4 separate regions of the Homo sapiens genome follow, and regions 1, 3 and 4 are each linked to region 2. The links are contacts of gene promoters, found by promoter capture Hi-C in blood cells and fetal thymus (Javierre and others, 2016). All regions are on one chromosome and are shown on one strand. The core of a region is centred on a gene start or on the middle of the fragment in contact, and the rest is flanking DNA. Distances in the headings are between cores, read along the strand shown. Region 1 has its middle 6.3 kb from the start of MIR5091. Region 2 holds the start of LAP3 (leucine aminopeptidase 3). Region 3 overlaps PACRGL (parkin coregulated like). Region 4 overlaps BOD1L1 (biorientation of chromosomes in cell division 1 like 1).

What was found. The method cuts DNA at HindIII sites, captures the fragments that hold promoters and counts their contacts. A CHiCAGO score of 5 or more calls a contact.
Region 1: a fragment that was not itself captured here is called in contact with the fragment with the promoter of LAP3 in region 2 in 1 of 17 cell types (non-activated CD4 T cells); the score reaches 7.0 in non-activated CD4 T cells.
Region 3: a fragment that was not itself captured here is called in contact with the fragment with the promoter of LAP3 in region 2 in 4 of 17 cell types (naive B cells, total B cells, naive CD8 T cells and 1 more); the score reaches 26.0 in naive B cells.
Region 4: a contact is called between a fragment that was not itself captured here and the fragment with the promoter of LAP3 in region 2, in 1 of 17 cell types (total B cells). The highest score is 9.1, in total B cells.

What each region holds. Positions count from the first base shown.
Region 1 is chr4:13,632,798-13,635,497 of GRCh38, forward strand. No RefSeq gene overlaps it. Among named protein-coding and RNA genes, the nearest start is that of MIR5091, 6.3 kb to the left of the region's middle. The HindIII fragment of the contact is 1,837 bases long and covers 398-2,234 here.
Region 2 is chr4:17,575,748-17,578,447 of GRCh38, forward strand. It overlaps LAP3 (leucine aminopeptidase 3), which reads left to right and starts at 1,451. Exons shown (of 13, transcript NM_015907.3): 1 at 1,451-1,820. The coding sequence starts at 1,719. RefSeq lists enhancers at 1,099-1,458, 1,799-1,998 and a silencer at 1,519-1,728. The HindIII fragment of the contact is 2,285 bases long and covers 149-2,433 here.
Region 3 is chr4:20,701,940-20,704,639 of GRCh38, forward strand. PACRGL (parkin coregulated like) reads left to right here. Exons shown (of 9, transcript NM_001258345.3): 2 at 2,527-2,594. The coding sequence starts at 2,543. Among named protein-coding and RNA genes, the nearest start is that of PACRGL, 2.8 kb to the left of the region's middle. The HindIII fragment of the contact is 483 bases long and covers 1,016-1,498 here.
Region 4 is chr4:13,616,487-13,619,186 of GRCh38, forward strand. All of the region lies in intron 2 of BOD1L1 (biorientation of chromosomes in cell division 1 like 1), which reads right to left. Among named protein-coding and RNA genes, the nearest start is that of BOD1L1, 9.9 kb to the right of the region's middle. The HindIII fragment of the contact is 254 bases long and covers 1,161-1,414 here.

The DNA of each region.
Region 1 (2,700 bases), core at 66-2,565, 3.9 Mb before region 2:
TTCCCCAAGTCTGATGTCAAGGTGACAGAGTTTATAGTTTGCGAATTAGGGAAGCAACAATAGGTGATGATGGCCCCTGTTACTGGTAGCCATGTGCATGGTTAGGCACCAGATTCCTGACAAATGGTTTTTGTCAGGAATTTCTTTTCCTTTCTACAGTCCAGCCTGTCCCCCACCCCTACCCAATCCTCCAGACTGCTTCTGTGAGCTTGTCCAGTGAAAGTCAAACATTGATCTCCTAACACCAGGGATCCCATCTGATTATTCGTCAGAGTTGTTTCCTTATTTTCTTCCCCTTGTACCCCCATGGGATCCCCACTCTTTGGCATCTCCATTCCCGACTAGGCTTTTCATAATCAAAGGGAAATCAATATTTCCTAAATCTCCATCAACCCAAAGCTTAGTAGAAACTTTGAAAGTTCGTTTTTCAGTGATAACGGAAAACATCGGAGGAGGGGGAGAGGACATGTGTTAATATTATTTGTCTTTCCAATGCAAGCTGCATGGTCACACATATTCTATTTTTGTTGCAGTATAGTAGTGCCCTGTTATCCATGGGGGATATGTTCCAAGACCCCTAGAGGATGCTTGAAACCATGGAGGAACAAACTATACCATGGGCTGGGCTCAGTGGCTCACACCTGTAATCCCAGCACTTTGGGAGGGTGAGGCAGGTGGATCACCTGAAGGCAGGAGTTCAAGACCAGCCTGGGCAACATGGTGAAACTCCATCTCTACTAAAAATACAAAGTTAACCGGGTATGGTGTCACGTGCCTATAATCCCAGCTACTTGGGAGGCTAAGGCAGGAGAATTGCTTGAATCCGGAAGCCGGCGGTTGCAGTGAGCTGAGATCGTGCCACTGCACTCCAGCCTGGGTGATAGAGTCAGACTCCATCTCAAAAACAAAAACAACAACAAAAACCCCAAAAGTCTATACTGTGTATATTATATTTTTTTCTGATCTGATAACCAAGATGGCTGCTAAGTGACTTAACAGGCAGCTAACATACACAGAGTGGATATGCTGGACAAAGGGATGGCATGGTATGGTGCAAGATTTCAGCATGTTTGTCAGAATGGTGCAACACTTAAAATGTATTCATTGTTTCTGGAATTTTCCATTTAATATTTTCAGACCACAGTTGACCATGAGTAACTGAAACTGCAGAAAGCAAAACCTCAAATAAGGCAGGACTACCATGATGGTGGGGCTGCAGAGTGTTATACAATGTTAATGTGAAAAGCGGGTACTGATTTTTCCCTTGAAAGAATTGTCACTTGCCCTAGGGTCAGGGCATGGAAGTGGAGTGGTACAGGGGGACAGTAAGGCAGAGAGGACGAAGGGTGATTCTGGGACATTTGGCATAGACTGGAAACTTCAGCTCCCTGCCAGTCTGGGAGTGTTGTAGGGTAGGGGTGCTTTGGAAATGGTGGCTTTGTGAGAATATATTACCTTGAGGAGCTGCAGAATTCAAGAGAGTGGCCAAGTTCTAGTTGGTGGGAAAAAGGAGGATGTGTCTGGGGCAGCAAGACAGGAGTAATGTCAACTGAGACGAGGATTGGGATACATAAGCCCCTGGGATATTGGAGTAGGAACTTCAGAAGAGGAGGGAAATAGAGTGGTGGGGGGTATTTGGTGAAGTTGGACCTATCAGTCACATTAGTTATTAATACTTTATGGGATGGGAGATTCCTCTGTGGGTAATCTGGAAGACTAATAGTGGTTCTCAAATTTTAGCCTACACCAAAATCTCCTAGAGGACTTGTTAAAATAGAGTACTAGGCACGCCATCCTGAGTCCCTGATTTGATAGGTCTGGGACAGAGCCTGAGAGTTTCCATTGTTAACAAATGCATTTAACAAATGCTGATAGAACACTATATGAGAAACACTGGACTAGACAAATCACGGCCCACAGGCCTAATCCAGTCTACCTGTTTTTATAAACAAAGTTTTACTGAAACCGTACTTTCTAGTTTGAACATTTTTTTTTGTAAGATGATACTCCTTTTATGCAAGTACCATTAATTTTTATACATTTCTTTGCTCATAAGGTTTAAACTCCTGGTAGTGATAGCAATCAGATTTATAAAAGTAAGATTTATTATGAAGTTAGGTAGCCTGTGCCTATTAATGCTACTGAATTGCTGGCTATTTTGAAAATTGAGATGTCAATATTGCAGATGGCTTGAAATGCAAGGTATCTTTTATATGCTTATAAAGATGGAAAGAAGCTTTGCATTTAGCATTTTCCATTTAGGCTTTGTGAAAATTGTTCTTATTTTAAAAATAGCCCTAACATGTGTGTGTCTGTGTGTGTGTGTGTTTCCTGAGTATTCTAGATGGTACATGGTATTCTGAAAACTGAAAGTCACACCTCCAGGAATAAAATTAGGAAAAGCAGAAATTGGAGGGAGGTCTCTAGAAATGATGTAGTATTATCTGAATACCTCAAATCTAATCCAGGTCATCTGGGTAGAAATTCTGGGAGGGATTTATTTAAATATAAATAAAAATTTGTATACCTAAATAAAGATTGTATTCTACATTTGAAGAAAGAGTTGTTTTTTTTTTTGTTTTGTTTTGTGTTTTAAGAGTAAGAGGTGGTTGGCATGCATGTATGAAAGGAAGGAATTCAAAGTGTCTAGAATTGGCACTGTCTCTGGAGAGCATGCATTTGCTATTGGGTGCCAGCCAT
Region 2 (2,700 bases), core at 201-2,700:
GTTCTAGGCAGAAATATAGTTATAATTAAGCATTAATCAGGCTGTACTTTGGCCCACTTCCTTGTTGCTAAAAGTCACCTAGCACTACATACTGACCATTTGCATTCCCATTGTTCCTATAGACAGGATCTCTGACATTAGAATCATAAGCTTTCTGTTTAAGGATCGCTTAAGATATTTTTCAGACCTTGAATTCCAGCTACCAGTTTGAAGATCCCCAGAGAGGAATGGGGTCAGCTTAAGAATACAGGTTCTTCAACGCCCTGTCCCATGACTTCACCCTGCACTCTTCAATCAACGATCTCCACACTATAGCCCTCTCCAAAACCCTTAAAAACCTTGACCCCAAATTCCTCAGGGAGATGGATTTGAGGTTTCCTCCCATCTCCTCCTTTGGCGACTCCACGATTACACCTCTTTCTCTGCTGCAACCCTGGTGTCTGGGCGTATTGACTTGCTATGTGCACGAGTCAACGAACCTAATAGTGTTACATCATTTTCAAAAACAGTATTTACACCGTTGCACCTGTGGAACAGATGAAAGGACACGAATAAAAATAACTCAGGCCAGGTGCGGTGGCTCACGCCTGTAATCCCAGCACTTAGCGAGGCCGAGGCAAGTGGATCACGAGGTCAGGACTTCGAGACCAGCCTGGACAACATGGTGAAACCTCGTCTCTACTAAAAATACAAAGAGTTGCCGGGCACGGTGGCTCACGCCTGTAAGTAATCCCAGCACTTTGGCAGGCTGAGGCGGGTGTATCACCAGAGGTCAGGAGTTCAAAGCCAGCCTGGCTAACATGGCCAAACACTGTCTCTACTAAAAATACAAAGATTAGCCAGGTGTGGTGGTGGGCGCCTGTAGTCCCAACTACTCGGGAGGCTGAGGCAGGAGAATCTGTTGAACCCGAAAGGCGGAGGTTGCAGTGAGCCGAGATTGCGCCACTGCACTCCAGCCAGGGCTACAAGAGCGAGACTCCGCCTCAAAAAAAAAATCCAAAAAAACAACAAAAAAACACAAAGATTAGCTGGGCGTGGTGGCGGGCGCCCCTAATCCCAGCTACTCGGGAGGACGAGGCAGGAGAATCGTTTCAACTAAGCAGCGGGAGGTTGCAGTGAGCCGAGATCGCTCCATTGCACTCCAACCTGGGTGACAGAGCGAGACTCCGACTCAAAAAAACCAAACAAACAAACGAAAACTCAGTGGGAGTGTCTTCACTATGCAGTCGTCTATTCAGCAACCTTGACAACAAGCTCTGGCACTCAGTTTCTATTTCCCGGGAGTTGCCCAGCGCTCCGCCCACGCCCGCTTGCAGAACTCGCCCCGCCTCCGCCCCACCCATCGTGTGACGTCACCATATCGGTCCCGCCCCTCTACTTCGCGTTGCTCCCGGGACTGTCAACCGCGTCCGGAAGCCCCGCCTTTTCGCCCCCGCCCGCATGCGCGGGCGCACACGAATGCGGGCGCACACGAATGCGGGCGCACACGAATGCGGGCGCACCCTTGAGTCCCCTCCACAACCGCGGTTTGATCCCAGCGGTCCAGTCGGCCGGTGCTGCCCATCCGTCCCGCCCCCTAGACGCACGTCCGCTCGCCCGGCGCCCGAGCCAGTCCGCGCGCACGCCGTCTGCGCCCCGAAAGCCCCGCCCCAAGGCGCGCCCGCCCACCGCTCTCCACGTGCTCGCTGGAGGGCGGTGCGAGGGGCCGAGCCGACAAGATGTTCTTGCTGCCTCTTCCGGCTGCGGGGCGAGTAGTCGTCCGACGTCTGGCCGTGAGACGTTTCGGGAGCCGGAGTCTCTCCACCGCAGACATGACGAAGGTGAGAGGCGGCGGCTCGCTCATGGTCCGCCGCTGGGGCCCTGCCCGTGGGCTACTGGGGCTGCGGGGCTGGTCGAAGCCGCGGTGTCCTGGGCGCCCAAGCCAAGTTGCAAAAATCAGTTTAAAAGAAAAATTCTCTCCTTGCGGGGATCGGCCTAGGCCGCTGAGGACCCCAGCGGTCGTATTGAGGGCGCGATTCCCCTGCTCGGGGCTAGGGGGTGATGGTTGTAGCCGCCCTTTACCCGGCTCCACTCGGCCGCGCACTTGCTCCAGTCGTCACCCGCGGTCCTGGCAGTAACCCGGGGAAAGACGCGGCGGTGGGGCTCCCATCCGAGCTTGGAGGAAGCCCGAGTTTGCCAAGGTGAAAGGGTTTCTGAGGTCCCAGAGTCACAGGGCTCCTTCCCCCGCGGAAGTGAAAGGTCAGGGAGTTAAGTAGCTTGGAAGGGTTTCTAGAGGAAAAGCATGCCTCTCTAGAGAAAAGGGCTTTGGGGAGAGACCCACGTTTCCCAGAATTAAGAGCATCTTCCAGAAGAAAAGTGAACTCCAAAAAATTACGAAGGTCGCTCTTCAGATGTGAAGGATCTGCAAAGGGAATGGCTCTCGGAACCAGCACAAGCTTGGGAGTCATGCCTAAGCACCAGAAAGAGATGACTGTCCCTGCAGAAGAACGTTCTAGGGGGAGCTTGAGCTCCAGTCTCCTGCAGGTATCTCAGTGGTGGAGGGACCAGTCGCCTGACCAGTGCTATCTCCAGTACTGTGCCACAGCCTACCCAGATAACAGTTGCTCAGTTGGCTCCATTGATTCCCGGGGAGTGAACAATCTTAGGGAAGTTAGAACCTGGCAGAGTTACCAATGCCAAGGAAGGCCGTTTTCTTTGGTG
Region 3 (2,700 bases), core at 7-2,506, 3.1 Mb after region 2:
ATACAGGATTTTGAAAGGGGATGTAGACGTGTTTGCATTACTGTATGTTTAATGCTGAAAATTATATATTGTACATAAAAGTTGTCCTGTATACTCATAAACTGTAGAAGCTCGATTTTCTACCATGTTTAAAACTTTTTCAAATGAGTTTTGGTGACTTTTTGAACTCATTCAAAATATAATGCAACACCTCCCCATTAGTTTGTTACAGGAACAACTTTTTGACGTGAAGGAAGATAGAAATTTAGCCATAAAATTCCATCCAAAACTTCCACTGAATTGGTAGGTAGTATTGAAAAATGTGCATCATAATTTGATATGGCTGCCTGTGCCCTTGTTATGTTTGTGGGTACGCGTCTTTGCTGTGCATCGCTTTTATCTGTTGCAGCTGTTAACAATTGATGATCAAGAGAAATTGGACCTCAGCTGGTCTTCAAATTGATGTAGCCCAAGATGTTAAGCCAGATTTTTTAAAAATGACAAAACATGTGGTTTCACTATTAGTAATAGTAATACTGAAGAACACTTTGTACCATTGTAAAGAAAATTATAATAATAGCTAAGACTCATGTGGCCCTTACTGCATGCCTCCCATTATGGAAATGTTGTTTTACATATATTCTTACTAGTCTTCATCAACACTTAAAGTAGTTCCTGTAATTATGCCCAATTATAGAGTTGAGGAAACTGATGCATTTTTTTTTTCAATAGAAACTTGTGTTGTTCCCCCTCCAGGAGCTTCTCAAAACAGAAGTCAGGCACAATATTAAATACTTGTTGAATGATCACAGAAGTACAATAGTAGGTTAACATATTTAAAGCTTCTCTCAGCTTATTTTAGACTATTATCTGACAACTTTAATGAGATTTTAATTACCGTAGTATTAGAAAATGGCCCTGGGAATGGAGGTGAAGTGTGATACTGGGAAGTAAGTCATCTGCTGGTAGTGGGATGAGATAAATGAGATCAATGTACTAAATCAAGGAAATTGAAATTATTCAGTGTGCAGAAGCAAGCTTACATTTAGGTTATCTTTACATGGTATCAGACTTTAAGCTGGTACATCATGTTTGAGATATCTGGCTAAATTTTATAACATGGAGCTTTGTCCTCCTTTTGAGGATTTCTAACTTGTTAAGTGGATTAAAAGCATTTCATGTGAGGAATCATTTTAAAAAGTATCAGTGTTTATCCTGAAGAAGAAAAAATGAAGGAGTTAAGAGTTAATGCCATCAAATATTTGAAAAAGTGTCATTTGGAGGTGGAAGAGGACTTTACCTGTGTTGTCCTAAGGGAAGATCTTACACTATACTTGAGAGGCAGTCATTATTAAAGGCATTAAAATGAGACGTGTGCTAATAGAATAACTAGATTGTCGTGGAAGTGAGGGAACAGAGTAATCAAGTAGAAATAAGGACACAGGATAGAAATCAATGCCATAGAAATACACATTTGAGAAACCAAGATGAGGAAAGGCTTCATGGAAGTTGGGAATGAAGCTTGGCCTAAAAATACCAGTAGGCACTTGGGTATATGAGTGTGTGTGTGTGTGTGTGTGTGTGTGTGTGTGTTTGTGTGTGTGTATTTCTTGCTAGAGATACAATTGTAGAAATTGATTGGATTAGCTGGAAACCTTGGGGTATGAACTAGAGTCCTCCATTAGCAGAAAAAAAGCAACTGTGTAAGGGAAAAGTGAACCAGTATTCCCTGGGTGAGTAACTTGAGAGATAATTTCATTTGCACCTCCAGAAAACCTTGACAGGCTTTTATTTCCCTCTTTAAACAGGTCAGGAAGTCGAGGTTTAGGGAGGTTAAATAATCTGCCTAAATTCATAAATTTCATAATTGGTAGAACTGAGATGCAGACCCATATTTGAGCCCAAAGCTCTTTCTTTCTCATCACGTGTAGCATTGAGTGTAGGAAATGAAGGAAAAGGAGACAATGGTGATTCTAAGTTTTTCAGTCTGAGGACCAGAAAACTGGTGGTACCCTGGGTTAACAAGGGGTTCATAATAACTTCAGTGTGACAACCTCAGTTTTAGTTACATTCAGTTTAAGGAGCTTGTGATACATTGGGTAGGAGAGTTCATTATGTCACTGGAAAAGTAGAGCTTGATGTGCACATGTTAACATTTGGAGCTTTGGAAATACAGAGGCCAGAGAAGATGGAGAAGATGACAGGGAATGTACCAACCACTCCTTTCAGAAATCTAGTCTGTGTTTTCTAATGTGGTCAGAGAATTGGAAGTGAGTTTCTAACAGTTTATTTTGACAATTTGAATGGAAAAAAAGTTGACTTTTGTACATCATTTCTTGGAGATGATTATTTTGCTGTTATTGATACTATTGAAGTTGACATAATTTCATGTTTTCTCATTAGTCTTTTCCAGTATTTTGCTCCATATCAACTTTTTTGTGTGTCTTTTACTGTATTGTATACTCTGTTCTGGTTTTGTCTTTTTATTGATAACAAATGCCCCTCCAAACAAATTTTGAAATCAACTTTTTTTTTTTTAAACTGCAGGAGTGAAAGGGAAGCAATGCAGAAATCAGAGGGCTCTGGAGGTACACAGTTGAAAAACAGAGCAACAGGTACAGAGCTTTTGTTTTTAAGTGAAGAGGTCAAGTTTGTTCATGGCACTTTCTGTGCTACAGATGGATGCAGGGTGAACTTTATTGCTTGTACCTGGTTTCTATT
Region 4 (2,700 bases), core at 38-2,537, 4.0 Mb before region 2:
AAAATAAGAGAACGTGAATTTATTTTAAGAAACACACTTAAATCTTGTTTCTTCCTAAAAAAGAAGTGGAGGAGTCAAGGTAGTCAGGATAGTGCTGGAAGATCAAAGTGCTCGTCATTTTTAGCTTCTAAGCCTCAACTGCTCTCTATGGAATGGATGAGGAGCCATCTTTCCTTACACTTTACAAATGCTATTTTTGAGTGCACTTCCATCTGGAGTGCAGGATGGATTAGTTTTTCATTTCTGGAAGCACCTTGTCGCCTTGTGAAACTATAATTCTACTTATGTGGGCCATAGAGAAAAATGAGCCAACTCAGCACAAAGTAGGTTACCTGCTTTTTAAAGATTAAAAAAAAATGCAAATCTTGCAAACACTGTTACATCTTAGAGGTGTATTTAAAATGTAGTAGGTAGAAAAGAAATAAGAAAAAGCAATCTTAAAAAAGGTTTTAGGGTACAAGTAAAAAGGTACAAAAAGGACCGGGCATGGTGGCTCACGCCTGTAATCCCAGCACTCTGGGAGGCCAAGGCGGGCAGATCACAAGGTCAGGAGATCGAGACCATCCTGGCCAACATGGTGAAACCTCATCTCTCCTAAAAATACAAAAATTAGCTGGGTGTGGTGGCACGTGCCTGTAATCCCAGCTACTTGGGAGGCTGAGGCAGGAGAATTGCTGGAATCCAGGAGGCAGAGATTGCAGTGAGCTGAGATGGCACCACTGCACTCCACCCTGGCGACAGAGCGAACTCCGTCTCAAAAAAAAAAAAAAAAATAGAAAATAGAAAAAAAAGTACCAAAAAAAAATTAAACTATCCACTCCCAAATTTTTGCTTCAGTCTCTTTCTCTGTTTGCCTATGTTCCAGCCTCTTGTTTTGCAAACAAACAAAACACTTCTGCTTTAGTCCTTTCTCACACAGAGGTCAGCTCTAATCTTACAGAAAAATGGAGTCCAGTACCAATGATCATACTGCACTTAGCGGCCATAACTGCCTCACCCAAGTGGGGAGAAGCTACAGCCCTAGGTCAACGGCAAAGCCAAAATGCCAACAGCTGGCGTTTTTCTGGTTAAAGTTACTTCCTTGTCTTCCTTTCAAATTATGTTTAGCTAAGTTCGTTATTCAGTTACCTAGGATTTTCAGATTCTGTTGTACAAATAAAAGCTTAAGTAGAATAAAATTTTCCCTCCTACTGAGTCAGCAGATCAGCTATTAAGTTGAACCATCTGAAATTACTGGTATTAGACCATTTTTGTCTTACAAAAATGGCAAGTGCAGATAGCTCAACCTAATGGAGTCAAGTGAGTATGTCTCAAAGCATACGTACAAAAAACTGTTTGAAATTATATTTATTTACAGGGGCTAGTCCACCCCTATACCTTCAGATTGAACATAACTAAATAATCTCTTTAAGGAAGCTTTAAAATGTTATTATCAGTATCATCCAAGAGAAGGCAGCTGTCTTCCCTCTTTCAAAATGTCTCCAGAAAAAGAGATTCCTCATTACTCATAGGCAAATTGCTCCAGCATTTAATCACTGACACAGCCACAAGAACCCCTGACCTCGCACCAAACATGATTTTGTGATCACAATATCTTACTGGTACAGCAATAATTTTAAGTGCTTAATTTTCACATGTGTAAGACTTAGTTCCCTTAAATAAAAGAATGACTGCTCCCTTACCTTATAGATTTTATACGCTATAAAAGTAAATGCAATTCTAAGAAGTTTGCCTTCAATCTGAGTGTCAATATATGAAGAAAAAAAATGCCAGACTCCCAAAAAAACATGCTTTTAAAGCAATGCAATCATTTGTGAACAGGGAGGTGGCTATGCAAATCACTGAATGAAAGTAATCAGTAGGGCTCTGTATAAATGTGTGTGAAGGGGTGCTCTACCCTACCTCCACTCCCTTATCCCCTAGTCCTAAGCTATTTTGGTCATTGTTCTCTTTGAAAGCCTTTGTGGAAACTACAGGCAGCGGGCCTGTCACCCAACAGATCTTTTTTGTTTCTACTTTTTCTAGAAACAGCTTTGACCTTTTCCCACCAGGTATTATTATGCAGCCTTCTAATGGCATCTTTTGATCTCACCTGGACTCTTTTACAGGTTCCTCAGACATCCTTTAAAATGTAGACAACAAAGCTATTGTGAATTTCCCTCTTCTCTTATGCACAAGGAGACACTGTCTGAGCCCCCAGGCTTCTGGTTTCTAGTATTACCTGTGGCTAAATAGGTTTGTCTTTTAGTCAGGGTGTGAATTTTGATTTGTGGGGCTTCCTGTTGGTTGAAACTATCAGACTAGATAGGCTTTCGAGAGGTTCCTATGGGACAAAAGGAAATTAAGAGGTGGCAGGTATAAAACAGATTTGTTTAACTGTTAAAAAAAAAAAAAGCTACACTTCATTCTCAAAGATGTACTTGAACATAAATACTTGTCAAGTCAGGGAGACTGGATGATCTCTAAATAACTTAGTCACCCTTTTTTTGAGGGGTATAGCAAGGGTAGAAGGCTTTCTTGTCTTTGCAAATATTTACATTCAAGAACAAGTAGTGGCCAGGTGAGGTGGCCCATGCCTATAATCCCAGCACTTTCAGAAGCCAAGGAGGGAAGATCCCTTGAGCCTAGGATTTGGAGACCAGTCTGGGCAACATAATGAGACCCTGTCTCTACAAAAAAATACAACGATAAGCTGGGCAT